Regions from separate parts of the Homo sapiens genome. Here all the other regions are linked to region 5. Evidence: promoter capture Hi-C in 16 types of primary human blood cells and fetal thymus (Javierre and others, 2016). All regions are on one chromosome and are shown on one strand. The core of a region is centred on a gene start or on the middle of the fragment in contact, and the rest is flanking DNA. Distances in the headings are between cores, read along the strand shown.

Region 1 (2,700 bases), core at 150-2,649, 420 kb before region 5:
GAAACCTCTCCTTCCCTCTCAGGGCCCCCCCAGAGGACAGGTGGAGGAACTGGCCCCTGCAGAGCCCCCTGGAGATGGGCGGGGGCCCAGGGTGGCATAGGCAGGGGGAGGGGCTGTCAAGGCTGGAGAGGGAGCAGGGCCTGGCTGGGACAAGGACAGAGACATGGGGTGGGGGCAGAAGTGGGAAGGAGGGGAGGATGCCAGGGTGGAGGCTACCTCCTGAGCACCCCTGCCCCCTCGGCCTGGAGACCAGTATCGGCTTCGGAACCTTCGGAGCAGCATGAGGAACATGATGACCAGCAGGTCAAAGACGAGCTCAGCCATCTCCACCACAGACAACACCGAGGAGCCGAACCACAGGCTCCACTGGCTGCCCAGGTTGGACAGGAGGGTGACCATCTGTGAGAGGAGAGGTACATTGACGATGGGACAGAGGGTTCTGGATGGACTCTGGCAGAGGAGCCCCCTTCCCTCCTCACCAAGCTGTCTCCCTTCATCCCTGAAGACCCCCGAGTCCTCTCAGCCTCTCAGCAGCCCCCTGGGCTCTTTGTCTCTGCTCCTGGCCAGTGTCACCCAGAGAAAACTGATAACTGGCCCACAGTTAGGGGCAGCTGAAATGGGGGCATGGGTCAAGCGCCTTCACCCCAGCATCTAGCATGCCTGTCCCTCCCACCACCCCCAGAGACCTTATGCCCCGGCCGAGCTCCTTCTTCCAACCCTCCCAACCTCTCCCTTGACCCTCTTCTTTGGTCCCCTGCCTTTGAGACTCAGAGCCTTCTGGCCCACAGAGACAACCTTTTGGTTTTCCCCGACAGCCGCCCTGCTAAGTAAGACCCCCAGAGCATCACAGGCTCCATCCAGGCACGACCTACCGTGACAGAGGGAGACTCAGAATTGGTTTTGTAGTTCAGCTCCTTGAAGAAGATGTTGACTTTGGCCACTCCATTTCTTAGGTGTGGGGCAGAGGGTGGGAAGAAATGGTAGAGGATGAATTTCCTGGACCTTCCTCTAATCAACCATATCGATCCCTCTTCTTAGGTCTATTTTCCCTCCCAAAGATTCCCTTCTTGTGGCTGGGACCAGGGCAGGACTGACCTCTTGTTGTTGACGGTGTAATTGTTCTGTCGCGATAGCATCTGGAAGACCCATTCCTAGGAAAGAATGGGGGTGTCATCAAGGTCACTCCCATATGCTTCAGGCTTACAGGGATAGGGTTGTGTCAAACACACTCATACACATAATACCCAGAGAAGGCCACAGCATTACATGGGCACACACATCCCCCACCCATCCCTTCCCCACACTCTACCTGGGATGTCACCGAGGGCCATCGTGAGTAACCAGCAGAGAGCTGGTAGCTGGTCACGCTGGGGATGGAGAAAGGTGCTCAGTGTTGGGGCAGAGCTCTCCCAAATGCTTGGCTCGGTAACCTGTATTCTACCCAACCTGTACCCGGGGAAGGGGACACTAACCTGCATGGCTTCCGGCACTTGGTGAAACAGCCCAGGTGGTCTGAGGAGAAGTCAACCTGGAGCTTATAGTAGCAGTACCCTGTGGGTACAGAGAGATGCCTGTTCTCCTAGGGCACCTCAGCTTTCTCTACCCCACACCCAAGAGGTCTCCCAAGATCCCTGGGTACCCACTTTACAAGAGCATTATTTAGCATTATAATGATGCCTTATGAGTGGCAGTACCAAGAAGCGTTTAAGAAATTAAGCTAAGCCAGGGACAGTGGCTCAGCACTTTGGGAGGCCGAGGTGGGAGGGTCGTTTGAGGCCAGGAGTTCAAGGTTGCAAGTGAGCTATGAGTGTGCCTTTGTACTCCAACTCTGGCAACAGAGTGAGACCTTGTCTCTAAAAAAAAAAATTTTTAATAAATTAATTTTTTTTTTAGACGGAGTTTCGCTCTGTTGCCCACGCTAGAGTGCAGTGGCGCAATCTTGGCTCACTGCAAGCTCCGCCTCCCGGGTTCATACCATTCTCCTGCATCAGCCTCCGGAGTAGCTGGGACTACAGGCGCCCGCCACCACGCCCGGCTAATTTTTCGTATTTTTAGTAGAGATGGGGTTTCTCTGTGTTAGCCAAGATGGTCTCGATCTCCTGACCTCGTGATCTGCCCGCCTCGGCCTCCCAAAGTGCTGGGATTACAGGTGTGAGCGACCGCACCTGGCCTAAAAAATAAATTAATAAAGAAAGAAAATAAGCTAAGTCAGGCGAAAAACAAAACAGGATACACCAGTGTAAGGAAATATATGCTATGGACAAAAACATAAACGCCATAAAGAAAAATGGGAACAGGCCGGGCGTGGTGGCTCACGCCTGTAATCCCAGCACTTTGGGAGGCCGAGGCGGGTGGATCACGAGGTCAAGAGATCGAGACCATCCTGGCTAACACGGTGAAACCCCGTCTCTACTAAAAATACAAAAAATTAGCCGGGCGTGGTGGCGGGCGCCTGTAGTCCCAGCTACTCGGGAGGCTGAGGCAGGAGAATGGCGTGAACCCGGGAGGCGGAGCTTGCAGTGAGCCGAGATCGCGCCATTGCACACTCTAGCCTGGGCGACTGAGCGAGACTCCGTCTCAAAAAAAAAAAAAAAGAAAAGAAAAATGGGAACAATAATTGTATAAGAATAAGGGAATTAAGCCACAATAAGATACCACTTCACACCCATTAAGATGTGTGTTATTTAAAAAAAGACAATA
Region 2 (2,700 bases), core at 163-2,662, 390 kb after region 5:
GGAGCCCCTGAGGGGCTTCCCAGGGTTTTCTGACTGAGGCCAGCTCCTCTGATGCCCCCAGGGATTCAGTCTGGCTTCCTCTCCTTGTGCAACGGCCACCACCTACACTGTCTCTTATTTTATTTTATTTTATTTTTCTGGGACTGGCTCCCTTCTTCCTTGCTGTCCCTGAAAACAACCGCAGAGGCTTTTGGGAGGGAGAGACAGGGTCTTGTTCTGTCGCCTAGGCTGGAGAGCAGTGGTAATCCTAGCTCACTGGAGCCTCGAACTCCTGAGCTCAAGCAATCCTCCTGCCTTAGCCCCCTGAGGAGCAGATGCATGCCACTATGCCTGGCTATTTTTAAGACTTTTTATAGAGACAAGGTCTCACTTTGTTGCTCAGGCTGGTCTTGAACTCCTAGGCTCAAGCGGTCATCCTGGCTCAGCTTCCCGGAGTGCTGGGATTACAGGTGTGAGCCGCCGCACTTGGACTTGCAGACGCCTTTTTCAGTGTTCTACTGTGATTCACTATAGCAAGTAGGTGGAAGTGAGGATTAGCGGGGAATATAAGGCATAACCAAGCTGCAAAGATTAGAGAAGTTTCACATAGTATTTAGTCAATAGAGACATGTTAGCAAGCTAAACCTATTTATTTCAAATAAACTCTTGAGGCCAGCTATAAATTTTTTTCCTTCTTGTGATTCCATAGCACTTTCTCCAGTTCTTTCATTGGGGATCATTCCACTCAATCTTTTCTGGTTGGATACTAGGTCCTGCTACTCTGATTAGGCTCAAGGTAGATAGGGGTGCTGCCTGGCCTGGTGAGATTCTCGATCCTTACTTTCTTTGGTATAAGGCCCCAGGTGAGAGACTTCTTGTTCTAGGAGCCCAGCACCTTCTCCCCTGAGTGTCCAGCTGCCCTGCATGGGCTGGTCTGGCGGGCAGCGTTTCTCACCCCTCAGCCCCTGGAGGAGTGTCTGTTCACGGCACCCTTTCACCTCCCCTCGGTGAAGCCCAGTCTCCCCATCCTTTGTTCTGAGCTCATGTCCAGGCTGATCAAGCTTCCCTCAGATTTCAGTTGAGAGCAGCAGTTTTCCTTTGCTTCTTCTCTTATTTTGACCTGAATAGGACACAGAGTTCGTAGCTTCCCTGAGGGCACTGGTGATTGGCATGCCTGAGCTGACAGGCCATTCACGGCATAAAACCCTTTCCATATGCCTTTTCTGACTCCGCAAGGTGCTCCCTCCCTTTCACCTACAAATCTCGAGTGGTGTTGCAGAACTGTGGTTTCACAATATCAAACCATTCTAAACATGCAGAAGCAGTGAGAGGTACGATCTCCTCCAGTGGCACGGAGGCCCATTGCTCTAAATCTCCTAAGTGCACTAGAGAAAGAGAGATGAATGTGAACTGGAACCAGGGTAAACTGGAACAGTCAGGGGAGATTTTGTGGCACATGTAGAGTTTGCATTTGGACCTGAACTGTAAAAGGGATTTTTGGATGGGTGTGAGAGAGAATGGGAATTTGAGAACCGGGGGTAGATAGGTGGTTAAGAGTGTTTATGGTTAGAGAGAATAAGGTTGGTTGAGAAGAGCAAGCCGGATGATGAGGGTATTATGTATCTACTCATATCAAATTTTGATGACTGCCAGAATCACCTGGGGAGCTTTAAAAACTCTCGGCACCTAAATTATACCCTAGAATGTCTAGGGGGTGGGAGCCACGTGTCAGTGGTTTTTAAAAATCCCATGTAATCTTTAAAAGTTTGGGAATAATTTTCCTCTTTTGTTTCCTACAAGTATCTGAAGCTTTGCAGAAAGAGTTACAAAGCAATAGGACAAAAAGAAAATGAATGAGGAAGTAAGGAGGAACAGGTAATGATGAAATAAGGATCCAATGAAGCCAGGGAATAAAGTCAGCTCATAACATGCGTACTATGAGATGCTATGCAGTTGCTACCACGGGCCAGAATTTTGACCCTGAGCTTCTTCAAAGCTAAAGCAAAAGGAAACCTGAGCAGTTCTGAGAGCCGTGATAGGAGCCAAACGCTATTTCATGAAAAGCCCTGGGAGTGCGGGGGGCAGAAAGAAATCTCTCCCAAGGCTCTTTGCAAAGAGAGCACCGTGTGGGGCCATGGACAGGGCTTTCCACTGTCCTCGCAATCCCATGGACCATTTGCTAAGTCACCCCTTAATGTTGGCTCTGGAGGTCATTCAAGGCCAGAATTAACTGCTCAGATCTCATGTAGCAAGAAAAGCTGAACGCACTTCTTAAATTCTTGATTTTTATCTGTAGCTGATTTAAAAATCCTCCCATCTCCCCGGGCTCCTGACTCATCTTAAACTAATTAACCAGACTTGTTTGCTTGTAGATAGAGTGTCTGCATTTTGTCTTTCCTGTGGTCATTTCTTATTGTCCTGGCAATCAACTTGTCATTTCCTTCATTAGGCCAGGAGCTCGGAGGGACACTGCATTGATTAGGGCGCAAACCAGCTTTAGCTCGTCATCGTTGTGTGCTTAGAGGAAGTTCACCTGCTTTGGCCTCCACTCTGAGGGTGGGGTCACCACCCCTTCTGGAGCCTGGGCTTAGCCACTGGGCCCATCTGCCAGTGAAGGCACTGCCCCTGGCTCTGGTCTGTTGACGTGGAGACCTGAGAGACACTATTTCCTGCAGATGGGCAGGAGAGACAGCTCTGTCCCCTCCTCCCTTATCCCCCGTT
Region 3 (2,700 bases), core at 75-2,574, 360 kb before region 5:
GTAGCTGGGATTACAGGCGTGTGCCAACACACTGGGCTAATTTTTGTATTTTTAGTAGAGACGGGGTTTCACCATGTTGGCCAGACTGGTCTTGAACTCCTGACCGCAAGTGATCCGCCCGCCTCGGCCTCCCAAAGTGCTGGGATTACAGGCAGGAGCCACCATGCCCGGCCCCATGTTGATTTCTTTCGTCAGTATTTTGTAGTTTTTAGCACACATATCTCCCACGTATTTTGTTATATTTATACCTAAAAACTTCATGGGGGCTGCTATTGTAAATGGTATTCTATAAACTACAGTACGTTGTTTCTTTGTATAGATCCAAGATTTTGATTATATTTCTTCTTCTTCTTTCTTTTTTGAGACGAAGTTTCACTCTGTTCAACCCAGGCTGACACAATCTCGGCTCCCTGCGACCTCCGCCTCCCGGGTTCAAGCAATTCTCCTGCCTCAGCCACTTGAGTAGCTGGGACTACAGGCGCCCACCACCACGCCCAGATAATTTTTGTGTTTTTAGTAGAGACAGGGTTTCACCATGTTGGCCAGGCTGGTCTCAAACTCCTGACCTCAAGTGATCACCCGCCTTGGCCCCCCAAAGTGCTGGGATTACAGGCGTGAGCCACCACACCCAGCCTCTTCTTCTTAGAGAACTTGCTTTGACATTTATTATAAAGTAGGTCTGCTGGCAATCAACTTCCTCAGTTTCTGTTTGTCTGATAAACTTTTAATTTTGGCCTGGTGTAGTTGCTAATGCTTGTAATCCCAGCATTTTGGGAGGCTGAGGTGGGAGGATCACTGGAGTCCAGGAGTTTCAGACCATCCTGGGAAACGTAGTGAGACCCCGTCTCTAAAAAAATAAAAATAAAAATAGAAAACTCTTAATTTGGGCCAGGCACAGTGGCTCACGCCTGTAATCCTAGCACTTTGGGAGGCCAAGGTTGGTGGATCACCTGAAGTCAGGAGTTTGAGACTAGCCTGGCCAACATGGCGAAAACCCGTCTCTACTAAAAATACAAAAATTAGCTGGGTATGATGGCAGGCACCTAGCTGAGGCAGGAGAATCACTTGAACCCGGGAGGCGGAGGTTGCAGTGAGCCAAGATCATGCCACTGCACTCCAGCCTGAGTGATGGAGCGAGACTCCATCTCAAAAAAAAAAAAAAAAAAGATATTACTCCATTTCATTTTGCTTTTATTGTTTCTGACTAGCAGTCTGCTGTAATTCTTATCCTCGCTCCTCGGTAAGATATTATGTTTTTTCCCCCTTGGCTGACTTCCAGATTTTCTTTCTCTTTGGTTTTCAGCAGTTTTAATATGATATGCCTAGATGCATGGGTTTGGTGAGGGGCTGTGTTGTTTTGGTATTTATCCTGCTTGGTGTTCTCTGAGCTTCCTTGATCTGTGCTTTTCTGTCTGTTACTAATTTTGGATAATTCTAAGCCATTATCTCTTCAAATGTTTCTCCTGTCTTATTCTTTTTGTTCGTTTGTTTGTTTGTTTAACTAAGTCTGATTAGACAAATCCTGTCCAAGTCTTTCTTCTCCTTCTGGAATTCCAATTATGGGCATGTTAACTCATTTGGTATTCTTGGATGGTGTCTTCTTTCTTTCTTTTTTGTTGTTGTTCTGTTTTGTTTTTTACCCACTCTTTTTTTGCACTTCAGTTTGGGTAATTCCTCTTTATTTTTTTGCAATTTTATAACTTTATTTGATGTATTTGACTATCAGCGATTAGTTCTCATCCACATTGACTGTCTGTAGATTTTTGAAAGTGGTAGCAAATACATAGGTAACCAAAGTATAGAGCTTATTTGTGAATCTTCATCCTCATTACGTTTTCTGGACAGCCGCACATGGATTCGGTGTCGGACATTCCTTATTCCTTTGGCCCAGACAGCTTTGTTGAGCCTGGTATCAATGCGCACATCTGGAGTTTCCATCTCCTTCATGGCAAATTTCCGAATCTCTTTGAGTGCCCGAGGGGCACGCTTCTTGAAGCCTACTCCACAAATGCGCTTGTGAATGTTGATGGTGTATTCTCGGGTCACCACTTCGTTGATGGCAGAACGGCCCTTTTTCTTCTCGCCACCCTTCTTTGTGGGAGCCATTCTGCCATGTCCAAGTTGGAAAGGGAGTTTGGGAAATTTCTATTGACCTCTACACCCAAGGTCACTGATTCTTTTCTCAGCTATACTGAGTCTACTGATGAACCAGTCAAAGGTGTTCTTCATTTCTGTCACCACGATTTTATTTCAAGCATTTCCATTTTATTCTTATGGTTTCCTCTGCTGAATTTATCCATCTTCTTTTGGCATGTTGTCTACCTTTTCCATTAAATCCTTTAACATAATCATGTTACTTTAAATTCCATGTCTGATGTCATATCTGAGTCTGGTTCTGATTTTTTTTTTTTGTCTTTTTAGATTGTGTCTTTTTCTTTTTTTTGAAACGGAGTATTGCTCTGTCACCCAGGTTGGAGTGCAGTGGCATGATCTCTGTTCATTGCAACCTCTGCTTCCTGGGTTCAAGCAATTCTCCTGCCTCAGCCTCCCCAGTAGCTGGGTTGACAGGCATGCGCTACCATGCCTAGCTAATTTTTGTATTTGTAGAGAGGGGTTTCACCATACTGGCCAGGCTGATCTTGAACTCCTGACCTCGTCATCCGCCTGCCTTGGCCTCCCTAAGTACTGAGACTACAGGTG
Region 4 (2,700 bases), core at 81-2,580, 320 kb before region 5:
TGACAAAGCTGGTTTTGCATAAACAGCTCTCTGAATCACACCCAAATGTGGCTTCTGACTTGAGTGGACCCCCATGAAGAGCTGCAGAGGGGGCTGGGAAAAGACAAGAGAATGGAGAAAATGAGGAGAAAGGAAACTACAGAGTGAGATAGAGAACAGATCTGACAGGTGTGACCACAGCAGTGTGACATTTATGAACAGTGTGGAAACAACGGCAAAGCCCCTAAATTAAAAACTTCCTGGGGAAATAAGCCACTCCACATATCGGTTGCTGAGGAAAGAGTGGAGGAGGCTGTTGACCCGTGTGTGTCCCCATGACTCAAAGAGGGAAAAGTCTAGCTGTTTCCAATATCCCGAAATCAGTCTTGCTGGGAGAACTGGGAAAATAAAAAAGAGATGACCCCCGTAGGAAGCTACCTTTAATCCCAAGTGCCCAAGGCTAGGAGAGAAGATGCTCCAGGCGATCCAGGACACCAGTGACTGACACAGCCAGAGGTGGGAAAGGGGAGGATAAAGATGGCACAAAAGTGAGGAGTGAGCAAGGGTCTGAGAGGGAAGGCCATGTGGGCAGTAGGTGGCACCCACATCAGAGACTGACATGAGGATTAAAGGAGAGCATAGGTGATCGGTCAGAGTGTGACAGAAGAGAGGCAGCTCTACACCCCTTGCTTGCAATTCTGAGCATTCTGTAGCAAACTCGTTTGGCCATCAAACCAGACCTCAATTGAGACAAGGCTATTTAAGCTTCCTCCCAGTTGGTGTAAATATTCAATAGTTTTGCTGCAGAAATGTTGCGTTTGATTATGAGACTACCCCAACTCCCCAAGGGTGTTTTGTGGTGCTGGTTTCTGTATAAACCTGAAAAATTCTGAATTCCAAAACTTATCTGACCCCCAAAGTTTCAGATAAGAGCTTGTGGACCTGTGCTCAATTCTGGTTCTCCTTCCTTCTTTCAACTGTTGTCTGTGAAAGGAGGGATGCAGGTATGGGAGACAGGAGTCCTGCGAATTCGTCTGTAAACTGTGGACGGGGGGGTGGGTGGGGGGGGGTAACGTGGGCACCTTTGTGCACAAGTGCATGAATAGGAGGGGTGAGCAACTGTGTGTCCATCACCTTTTTGTCAAAGAAGCAGGAGTCAGTGGGCTACGTGCTTCATGAGCAGGAGAGGCGGAAACTAAGGAAGGCTCATGTGTTGGAGGAAGCATGTTTGAAGAGCAGCAGGTCTCACAGAGTTTGCTCTTTAATACTCTCCCCAGCACACGGAAGGGGAAGGGGGTGGAGGTTGCTGCTATGAGAGAGAAAAAAAAAACAGCCACAATAGAGATTCTGCCTTCAAAGGTTGGCTTGCCACCTGAAGCAGCCACTGCCCAGGGGGTGCAAAGAAGAGACAGCAGCGCCCAGCTTGGAGGTGCTAACTCCAGAGGCCAGCATCAGCAACTGGGCACAGAAAGGAGCCGCCTGGGCAGGGACCATGGCACGGCCACATCCCTGGTGGCTGTGCGTTCTGGGGACCCTGGTGGGGCTCTCAGCTACTCCAGCCCCCAAGAGCTGCCCAGAGAGGCACTACTGGGCTCAGGGAAAGCTGTGCTGCCAGATGTGTGAGCCAGGTAAGAGGGGGCCTTGGTAAGGGCCAGGTGAGTGGCGAAAGAGAGAGGACTGGGGTTAATACAGTAAATAGGCGCAGGGTGAGACTGAGCTCAAGCAAGGAGGGAAATCCTGCAGCTGTGGGGAGGCACCACCTTGAAGAGGGCAGAGAACCAGCCCTTCTCAGGCCTTGATCCCTTACCCTCTCCTCCCAGGAACATTCCTCGTGAAGGACTGTGACCAGCATAGAAAGGCTGCTCAGTGTGATCCTTGCATACCGGGGGTCTCCTTCTCTCCTGACCACCACACCCGGCCCCACTGTGAGAGCTGTCGGCACTGTAACTCTGGTGAGGTGGGCAAGGGTGTGTAGGTGGGGACGATGGACAAGCATCTGGGGGAGCAAGGCTGGTGACGGGTTTGGGGGTGCAAGGAGGATGACGGGGCCAAAGCTTTGGCCTTCTTCAAGGCTCACAGCAAGTGGAGCCAATGCTGGGAAATGCGGCACCCTAGGTGGGGCATGAATTAACGTGGGCAGACATCTAGTATTCCAGGAAAGGGATAAATAGAATTTGAGGGATTGGTGAGAACGGGTCTATGGATAGGATCAAGACAATAAAATGAGAGAAGTGGCTCTATGACCCCAGATTTCGGGCAAGCAACCCCCAACCAATAAACTGACTGTGTTCCCAGAGTGCACATGTGCAGGTTGGCCATTGGGAATTTGGAATACATCTTTCTAAGGAAATAACAAAGCAACCCAATAGGTAACAACCTTTTTTTGCACAAAAGCCAATTTGAGAAAATGAGTATGTATGTAGCCTGTGTTTTTATTTTATAGTTCCAAAAAAAAAGGTTTTTTTTAAACTAAGAAGTATAATATCTGCAGTTGTGCTTATGAATGCTGTTATTATTTCTCCATCTTCGCTACAATTTCAGAAACTACGGCCAGTATACACTAGAATAGCAGGCTTTAAAGTGGCCCCTTTGAACAAATGTTCTCTAGCAAGACACTTTTTAGAACCAGGTAACTGTAACTATTAAACTACCTACTTGCAAAACGTGTTTGGTGTCACTGGGTCTCTTGGTACTGGGTTTTGTTTTGTTTAGTTTAGAGAC
Region 5 (2,700 bases), core at 1-2,500:
AGCCTTCCACTCTGTCCACCTTCCTGACCTTTAATACACAACCCAGCCCCTGTTCCCTTCTGAAATCCCAAGCTTTTCAAAATGACTCAAAGATACCGAGATTGAGGGCGAGGAGCTGAGGATGTGTGGAATAGGGTGGGGCTGGAACTCCAGACCTGGACCTGTATTATATTTGCAAAGGAGGCAAATATAACCCAGAAAGGCTAGGGAAGATGGCAGCAGAGGAATGAGAAAAGCTGAAGGATGGAAAATGTAAAAAATGAGGACAGAAAGAGGAGTTGAGGAAAGCCAGCCAAGAATAGAGGGCCAGGTGCCTGACTCAGATAAGACAAGAGCAGGGTTGTCTGGGAAAGATAGGGAAAGAGACCAGAGGTGGAAGGGCAGAAGAGAGTCAGTGAGGAGTGGAGAAGAGGTGAGAGAAGAATGGGAGCGATTCGAGTTATAATTGGTTGTGAAGGAGGGGTCTAGGTACAGATGACTGAGGACGGATGAAGAGAAATAGAAGGACCAGGCGAATAAAAGTGAGGTGAGACGGGCGAATAAGAGAGGTAGAAGATGGAAGAGAGCTGGAAGACAGCAAAGGAGACCAGGGGGCCTGACTCCCCCCGGCTCACAGCACGGGGCCAGGAAGGGAGGCACCCGGCAAGGGTCACAAGTGTCAATCTGGCGGGACAGAAGGCTGGGCCGCCCTTTCTGCCCTCCCATCCCTCCTCAAGGCCATCCAGAGAATGTGGATGGAGGATGAGAGGGGGAAATCCGGCGTGGTGTGGAAGGAGCGCCCGAACCCTCTTCCTCTTCTTTAAGCTTTTGGTTTCTCAAATACCTGCCCTATCTTCCCATCTGCTCCCCTCACCCCACCCCTTGGCAAAATCCCAGGGCTTTTTTTGGGGTCAGTAGGATTCTGGCCACCTCTCCAGTCCGCCCCCAAAAGCCAGACTCCACATTCGCAGGCAGTAGGTTGGGATTTGGAAAGGTGCCTCCCCGCAGGAACCCCACCCCTTCCCACCTCCTCGCCCCACTCTTTCTCCGCGGCCGTCAGTCTCTCCATTTCCCCCTCCTGGTCTCGTCCTCCCTCCCGACTCCCTAGCTCTCCCTCCCCTCGCTTTCATCCTCCTATCCCCACCTCTCCAACCTCCTCTTTCATCCCCCTCCCCTCTCCTCTCCTCCCCGCTCCCGCCTGCCCCACCCCTGGGAAGCCCCTCCCGTCGGGCAGCGCCGCCTTATAAGCGGGTTCCCTTCCCGGGGGCGGCAGCGGCTGGTCGGCGGCAGCTCTGCTGGTGCGGGGGCGGCGAGCCCGGGATCGAGCTACCGCGGCCGAGCGCGCCGGCCACCGCCTGCACCGCCCTTCCGCCCGCCCTCCGGACGGCCGCAGCCCTGCGGGTCTCCGCTCCAGACCCACCCCCGCCCCACCCCGCGCGCCTCTGCCGCCTCTTCCAGAGACCCAGCTTGCCGAGCGGCCGCCGCTGCCGCTGTCGCCGCCGCCGCCGCCACCGCGCCAGGTTCCGGCCGCGGCCACCCTCCGCCGTCCAGGGCCCCTCCGTCTCGGCCCCGGGACCCCGGCTCCCCGCCAGCCCCGGCCCCGGCCCCGGCACCATGTCGGAGAAAAGCGTGGAGGCAGCGGCCGAGTTGAGCGCCAAGGTACGGGCGGGGGCGGCGGCGGCCCGGACCTCGCGCAGCCCTGGGGCCCGGCGCGGTCCTTCGCCCCAGGCCGCCCCCGACGGCCCCGCGCGGCCCTTGCGCCCGGGTCCTGGCGGACCCCACTGCGCCCTCCCACCGCTCCCCGGCCCGGAGCTCCTTTCCCGGCTCCGCGCGGCTAGCGCCAGCGCCCTCTAGCTGCCCTGCGCGCACCACGGCGCCCGGCCTCGCCGCTCCGGTCGCGCCGTCCCCCGCAGCCGTCCCCACCCCTCTTCGGCCCCACCTCGCTGACCGGATCCCGTCCGGCTTCCCGTCCGAACGCCCCGAGTCTCACTTTGCCGCGCCCCCTCCCTGCGCCCCGCTGCCGCGTCTTTGCTTGCAACCTGACCTCACCTTTCCTCGCTAAGCGGTTTGAGATCCTCAAGTGTAAACAGGACTCTCCCTGGAGGCTGCTCCTCCGGGCCCCTCCCCGCGGCCCGACCGTCGCTCGCTTCTCTCCCCGGACGGCGGCCGCCTCTGTTTTCTCGTTCCCTCCCCTCAGCTGGCTTTCAGCTTTCTTTTCTCTTCATCGTCCCCTTCCCGCATACACACTGAAAGAATCTCGAATTCCTAAAAATTAGAAGCGGGGCAGGACTAGCCTTCGAAAAAGCCGAGGCTGGGCATTGCATGGCATTGCGTCGAGCTGTCCTCGCCCTCATCAGCTCCCTTCCCCGGCCCCATCCGTTCGCCCTTGCCTCTCTTCCAGCCTTCCTCTAATTTCCCCAGGGAACCTGCGGAGTGTCGCTTTGGGAAATTAACGCGGCCGGGGTTTGGGGGCTGGGAGCCCTATCTTGTGTGTGTATGTGTATGGCGGGGGGGGGGGGCGCGGTGGTTGCTGAGGGGCCGTCACACAGGTCTCCCGGAGGCCCGCGGAGTGAAACGGGGGGAGCCAATGGGATTAACGGCGGTGGGAGAGGGGCTGTGTGCGATCTGCCAAGGTGCGCCCGTGTGGCCCTCCGGCGGGCTGTGCGGTGGCATGTGACTTCACTGAGTAGGTGTCTTTGTATGTCTGAAATCCAGCGAGTG
Region 6 (2,700 bases), core at 127-2,626, 370 kb before region 5:
AGAGGAGAGGAAAGGGAGTCATTAACAACTAGGGGGTTGGGTAGGATTCCTAGGTATGGGGAAGAGTTTTGGAAGGGGAGGAAAATGGCAAGTGTATTTATATTGTAACCACATGCAAATAAAAAGAATGGGACCTAGATAATTTATTTTCTTGGGATTTATACAGAAACACTATTCCATGGAGACAATCTCAAAGACAAAGGTCAAGACACTAAAATATAATCCCATAAAGATATTTCAGTGAGGAGCTGGTGAGTATAGTCCAGGTAATAACAGTCTCGTCAGTGATGGCTGACAACGTGCCAGGCAGTGTTCTCAATGCTTTACAGTACTAACTTACTTAATCTTCACAATAACTCCCTAAGGTAGATATGATTCCCATTTAACAAATGAGGAAACTGAGGCACAGAGCGGTAACTTTCCCAATTCAGCTGCAAATGACAAAGCTGGGATTTGCACCTAGTTCGTCTGGCTTTTAGAGGCCTCTTGGGGAAAAAAAAGCCTTCATATACCACGCCCTTCCAGAATTTCTTTGAACGGGTAGAATGGTCTGGCCTTCTCAAATAATCAGATCTCTTGCATGTTCCGCAGGTGTTACTTTTCAGTCAACTCTCAAACATCTAGCCACACGCGAAGTGAAAAATGTTCTCCAAGGTTGATTGAAGGGAAATGTGTGCAATTTTTTTTTTTTTTTTTGAGACAGGATCTAATTCTGTCACTCAGGCTGTTGTGCAGTGGCACTATTATGGCTCATGGCAACCTTGAACTCCTGGCTCAAGGGATCCGCCCACCTCAGCCTCCCAAGTAGCTGGGGCTATAGGTGTGTGCCACGACGCCCAGCTAATTTTTTGTATTTTTAGTAGAGATCAGGTCTCCCTGTGTTGCCCAGGCTGGTCTCGAACTCCTGGGCTCAAGCAATCCTCCTGCCTTGGCCTCTGAACATGCAGTGATTACAGGCGTGAGAGCCACCGTGCCTGACCTGAGGTGTGCACTTTAGACATAAAATGAGAGAGGCCAAGTTCACATTTTGTTGGTGAACAGAAATCTAGGCTGGCCTCCTTTTGGTTCAGAAAGAGTATTTATGATTTTTACTTTTTTGGTTTCTTTTTGTCTTCTTTTATTTTTACCCCCAAAAAGGACTTTAAATCTTCTCAAGCCCTCTTATTAGTAAATGTTTGCCCCTCCCTGCCCCTGAATTCTCTCCTGTGCTCGGTCGAGAGGATCTTAGCTTGCAGGATTGTTAGGGAGCTGCTGCCAGCCGGCTGCTCCTTCCATAAAAGGCCACTCTCATGGGTCTGATATGAGGAACTCTGTCGCTGGAGCTCATCAGGGTGGGGCGGCTGCAAAACACACACCTCAGAAGGCGTCTGATCCAATGGAGTGGATGGGTCATTTAAGGTTGACTGTGAAAATATCACATCCAACTTCCTTTTTTGAAAAGTAAATAATGGTGAGCTGTATCTTTAAATAAAGTTAAATCCTCCTGCCCCTGCAATATGCTGGGGCCAGACCTCATGAATTCTTAATAATTGTTCTAATGTGTTTAGATAAAAAACAAATTTTATACATTTTTTTCAACAAAATAAAAGGAGGAAAATATTTTGAAAGAAATGATGCTGAAGCACAGCCCTTTGTGACACCATTCAAATTTATAATTATACCTGCCTGTATTTTTTTAGAGACAGGGTCTTACTGTGTCGCCCTGGCTTGAGTGCAGTGGTATAATCGTGGCTCATATAGCCTCAGCTCCTAGACTCAAATGATCTTCCTACCTCAGCCTCCCACGTAGCTAGAGCTACAGATGCGTGCCACCACACCTGGCTAATTTTTTTTTAATTTCTTTTTTAAGAAGTGGGGTCTTGCTATGTTGTCCAGGCTGGTCTCAAACTCCTGGGATCAAGTGATCCTCCCACCTCAGCCTCCCAAAGAGCTGAGATTGCAGGCATGAGCCACTGCACCTGGGCTGCCTAAATTAATTTTCTAGGGCCGCCATAACAAAGTACTGCAGACTCGATAGCTTAAGCTGCAGAGATTTATCTTCTCACAGCTCTGGAGGCTGGAAGTCAGAGGTCAACGTGTTGGCAAGGTTGGTGTCCTCTGAGGCCTCTGTCCTTGGCCTGCTAATGGTGGCCTTCCTGCCACCTATGTCTTCACATGGTCTTGCCTTTGTGCATGAGTGTGTCCTAATCTTCTCTTAGTGGATTAGGGCCCATCCTGATGACCTCATTTTAACTTAGTCACCTCTTTAAAGCCCCTGTCTCCAAATAAGGCCCCATTCTGAGGTCCTGGGAGTTAGGGCTTCAGCACGTGGATTTTGGAGGGAGACACAGTTCCACCCACAGCATTACCCATGTCTATTTTGCCAGTGTGGAGTCAGTACAGGCTCCAGGACACATCCACAGAGCACAGGCCACGTAGAGGGGAGCTCCTGTCTACAAGGAAAAGCTGGCAGAAAACCAACAAAGACAGCCTCTTGATGGTGGTCTTCAAAAGATGCAACAGGATGCAATGGCAGTTGACAATGGGGTAACTGTTGGTTGTGAGAACCCTAATCCTCTACCACAGGGAGGAGAAAGCTAACACCAAGTCCAACCCACATCAACACGGGGGTGGGACACCCGTTAGGGGGCCAAGGCTGTAGTCCAGAAGAAAGGTGGATGGAACTGGGGACAGAGCAGTAGCACAGGGAGATGGGGGAGG
Region 7 (2,700 bases), core at 197-2,696, 440 kb before region 5:
CAGGTAGCAGTGTGCTGGGTGGGCTGGAGGAGGGAGAAATTGGTGACAGGAGGTTTATTGTACTAGTTTGGGTGTGAAACATGGAAGGTTTAGTGCCACAGCCTTAGGGAGACATTGCAAAAAGGGACAAAAAACAAAGGAGAAGAAAGGACCTAAAGAAGAGGGAAGAGGCCGGGCGCGGTGGCTCACGCCTGTAATCCCAGCACTTTGGGAGGCCGAGGCGGGCCGATCACGAGGTCAGGAGATTGAGACCACGGTGAAACCCCATCTCTACTAAAAAAGACAAAAAATTAGCCGGGCGCGGTGGCGGGCACCTGTAGTCCCAGCTACTCGGGAGGCTGAGGCAGGAGAATGGCGTGAACCCGGGAGGCGGAGCTTGCAGTGAGCCGAGATCGCGCCACTGCACTCCAGCCTGGGCGACAGAGCGAGACTCTGTCTTAAAAAAAAAAAAAAAAGAAGAGGGAAGAGAAGGGGGAGCCTTAGGGATACTTTGGTTAAAGTCTATACTGAATTCAGAAAAATCCAGGTTCAGACACCGGTCCTACCAGGTCCTAGCCATGTGACCTTGGGTAAGTTATATGACCTCCCTCAACTTCAATTTCGTCATCTGCAAAACAGATATACACAATGACTACCTGCTTCCTAGGGAGATTCAAAGCTGTCATTCGGCTTAGGCACACAGCCTGGGGCCAGCACTGGGCACAGGCTCAGGAACTCCAGATACCCAGCGGCAAAGAGCACAGTTGGCCTCCCGAAGCTTCAGTTTGGAACACTGCATTGGCAATGGGACCCCAGACAGAAATGCAGTCATTAGAAAGGGAAAGGGAAATGTGTTTGTTTAGTTATTGCTTCCTCAGTGAGGTGGCTTTACTGTAGGAATATTTAAACAGCAGCGCTTTGAAATTGAGGCAGCCAAGATATAACCTAGTGGAGATATCTTAGGGGCTTTGGGAACAAAAGAAACAGAAACAAAGACCTGGAATTCAAGTGAAAGAGGAGGACAAAAAACACACCCCAAGGGGAGGCAGGTGGGTTTTGTGATGACAGTGGTCTCCCATCTGCCCTGTCCCCTGCTTCCGGCTCGGTTCACTGTCCCCTCTGCATGGCAGGGACTTCTCTCCACCACTTCCACCTAAGCCTAAACACACTTTCCACTAGGCTGGACTGACTGGCAAGTGACATCATTCTGGTGGTTAATCAAATTTTCTTGGCCAGGCGTAGTGGCTCACCTCCTCTAATCCCAGCACTTTGAGAGGCTGAGGCAGGCAGATGGCTTGAGACCAGAAGTTCAAGACCCAGCCTGGCCAACATGGCAAAACCCCATCTTTACAAAAAATACAAAAATTAGCTGGGCCTGGTGGCGCATGCCTGTAGTCCCAGCTACTCGGGAGGCTGAGGTGGGAGGATCACTTGAACCCGGGAGATAGAGCCTGCGGTGAGCTATGTTCCCACCACTGCACTACAACCCAGACAACAGGGTGAGACCTTGTCTAAAAAAAAAAAAAGTTAAATAAAACATTTTCCTGAAGGCTAGAGGCTCAAGGGGGAGCCCAGGGACAAAAGCGCAAGCTAGTGGCATCGGTGTCCCTAGAGCCCCAACTCCCCAGGATAGCCAGTGGGGCTGGCAGTGAATGGCAGGCTGCCTTTTTTCCTTCGGAACTGCCACCTCCACCTTCAGAACTTTCTCCTCTTTTTTTTGGTTTTTAGTCACAGAACAACAGCCAGACTCTCACCTTCTCCCTTTCAGAATCCCAAGAGCTACTGAAAATTACGGGTATTTTACTATGCAAAACAACTCAGTCCCCTGGTAGTCTCACTCCAGGCTAACAGGAAAGATCTGTCAAGATCTATAACCAAGATATGCACCAAGGCTCCCTGGCCTTCCTTAGCAAAACAAAGAAAACTGAAACTTTGAAATGACTTTTCCTGCTATTGTCTCACACCAGATTATTAGGGAATCCTCTCTAGAGCCATCAGTCTTTATACACTGAAGAGGGCAGTAGAAACTCTGTTGGTCCCTTTCATAGAGCAATCCCCAGGGGGCAGACTATTGTTTTCTCACCCTGGCAGAAACGTTGACTTGCAGATTTATTCCTAGCGGGTCTAGCTGTGATGACTCACACTTTTAGAGAAAGTAAGCTTCTCCAGGGAGAAGAGACTGAATCTTGGGGAATGCCCAGGGACTGAGAAGAGGAAAAGGAACAGAGACAGGAACAGAAAGAGCCGTCAGAGATGGCGACCAAGAAATTAAAGCAGGGAGACTGAAGGAGGCAGCCGAGGCTAAGAGCCAGGGTCTGAAGGAGAGGCCCGAGCAGCTGTCAGGGAGTTACTTCACCTCTTGGGGAGTTGCAGTGCACGCAGGACAGACAGTCCGCAAGTGGCCAGGCACAAGGCCCAGCACTGTATGGGCACTCCATAAATGTTTGCCGTTGTCATCATTAGAAGAAAGGGGTGGTCTTTGGGGCCTGGGTAGGGCCTGCTGCTGACTGGGGAAACGCATCCGCATCTGTTGCTCAGGAAGTCAGTGGGCACGTTTCAGAGTTCGGTTTTAGTCCGGCACTGGGGAGTTCTGGGAGGAGAGTGGGTGAATCTAGGAGCCACCCCAGAGACAGCAGGGAAAGGAGGCATTTCCTCTCCATGGGTACAAAGGAAGAAGAATCCTGCTAGGGGCCCTCCCTTCCTCTTCTCAGTTTTGTAGGG

What was found. The method cuts DNA at HindIII sites, captures the fragments that hold promoters and counts their contacts. A CHiCAGO score of 5 or more calls a contact.
Region 1: a fragment that was not itself captured here is called in contact with the fragment with the promoter of PTMS in region 5 in 1 of 17 cell types (naive CD8 T cells); the score reaches 5.6 in naive CD8 T cells.
Region 2: a fragment that was not itself captured here is called in contact with the fragment with the promoter of PTMS in region 5 in 1 of 17 cell types (total CD4 T cells); the score reaches 5.3 in total CD4 T cells.
Region 3: a fragment that was not itself captured here is called in contact with the fragment with the promoter of PTMS in region 5 in 1 of 17 cell types (naive CD8 T cells); the score reaches 6.0 in naive CD8 T cells.
Region 4: a contact is called between the fragment with the promoter of CD27 here and the fragment with the promoter of PTMS in region 5, in 4 of 17 cell types (naive CD8 T cells, total CD4 T cells, naive CD4 T cells and 1 more). The highest score is 5.7, in naive CD8 T cells.
Region 6: a fragment that was not itself captured here is called in contact with the fragment with the promoter of PTMS in region 5 in 2 of 17 cell types (total CD4 T cells and activated CD4 T cells); the score reaches 6.2 in total CD4 T cells.
Region 7: a fragment that was not itself captured here is called in contact with the fragment with the promoter of PTMS in region 5 in 7 of 17 cell types (activated CD4 T cells, naive CD4 T cells, non-activated CD4 T cells and 4 more); the score reaches 10.8 in activated CD4 T cells.

The regions. Positions count from the first base shown.
Region 1 is chr12:6,347,855-6,350,554 of GRCh38, forward strand. SCNN1A (sodium channel epithelial 1 subunit alpha) reads right to left here. Exons shown (of 13, transcript NM_001038.6): 9 at 1,473-1,551; 10 at 1,310-1,367; 11 at 1,096-1,151; 12 at 873-948; 13 at 1-399. The coding sequence ends at 19. It overlaps LOC107984500 (a long non-coding RNA gene), which reads left to right and starts at 327. Exons shown (of 4, transcript XR_007063191.1): 1 at 327-413. The HindIII fragment of the contact is 4,954 bases long and covers 1-2,700 here.
Region 2 is chr12:7,152,974-7,155,673 of GRCh38, forward strand. All of the region lies in intron 16 of CLSTN3 (calsyntenin 3), which reads left to right. Among named protein-coding and RNA genes, the nearest start is that of CLSTN3, 24 kb to the left of the region's middle. The HindIII fragment of the contact is 748 bases long and covers 1,039-1,786 here.
Region 3 is chr12:6,407,908-6,410,607 of GRCh38, forward strand. It overlaps the pseudogene RPL31P10. Among named protein-coding and RNA genes, the nearest start is that of LTBR, 25 kb to the left of the region's middle. The HindIII fragment of the contact is 9,699 bases long and covers 1-2,700 here.
Region 4 is chr12:6,443,625-6,446,324 of GRCh38, forward strand. CD27 (CD27 molecule) reads left to right here and starts at 1,331. Exons shown (of 6, transcript NM_001242.5): 1 at 1,331-1,607; 2 at 1,800-1,931. The coding sequence starts at 1,472. CD27-AS1 (CD27 antisense RNA 1) reads right to left here. Exons shown (of 6, transcript NR_015382.2): 5 at 1-93. RefSeq lists enhancers at 423-492, 513-562, 1,467-1,968, 1,513-1,572, 1,603-1,782 and 1 more. The HindIII fragment of the contact is 1,289 bases long and covers 743-2,031 here.
Region 5 is chr12:6,765,113-6,767,812 of GRCh38, forward strand. PTMS (parathymosin) reads left to right here and starts at 1,251. Exons shown (of 5, transcript NM_002824.6): 1 at 1,251-1,638. The coding sequence starts at 1,594. RefSeq lists silencers at 1,116-1,445, 1,556-2,055. The HindIII fragment of the contact is 8,838 bases long and covers 803-2,700 here.
Region 6 is chr12:6,391,430-6,394,129 of GRCh38, forward strand. LTBR (lymphotoxin beta receptor) reads left to right here. Exons shown (of 10, transcript NM_002342.3): 10 at 1-137. Among named protein-coding and RNA genes, the nearest start is that of LTBR, 8.6 kb to the left of the region's middle. RefSeq lists an enhancer at 1-44. The HindIII fragment of the contact is 2,950 bases long and covers 1-2,700 here.
Region 7 is chr12:6,321,388-6,324,087 of GRCh38, forward strand. The region is part of intron 13 of PLEKHG6 (pleckstrin homology and RhoGEF domain containing G6); the gene reads left to right. Among named protein-coding and RNA genes, the nearest start is that of PLEKHG6, 12 kb to the left of the region's middle. RefSeq lists enhancers at 1,545-2,086, 1,975-2,044, 2,095-2,184, 2,628-2,700. The HindIII fragment of the contact is 1,382 bases long and covers 756-2,137 here.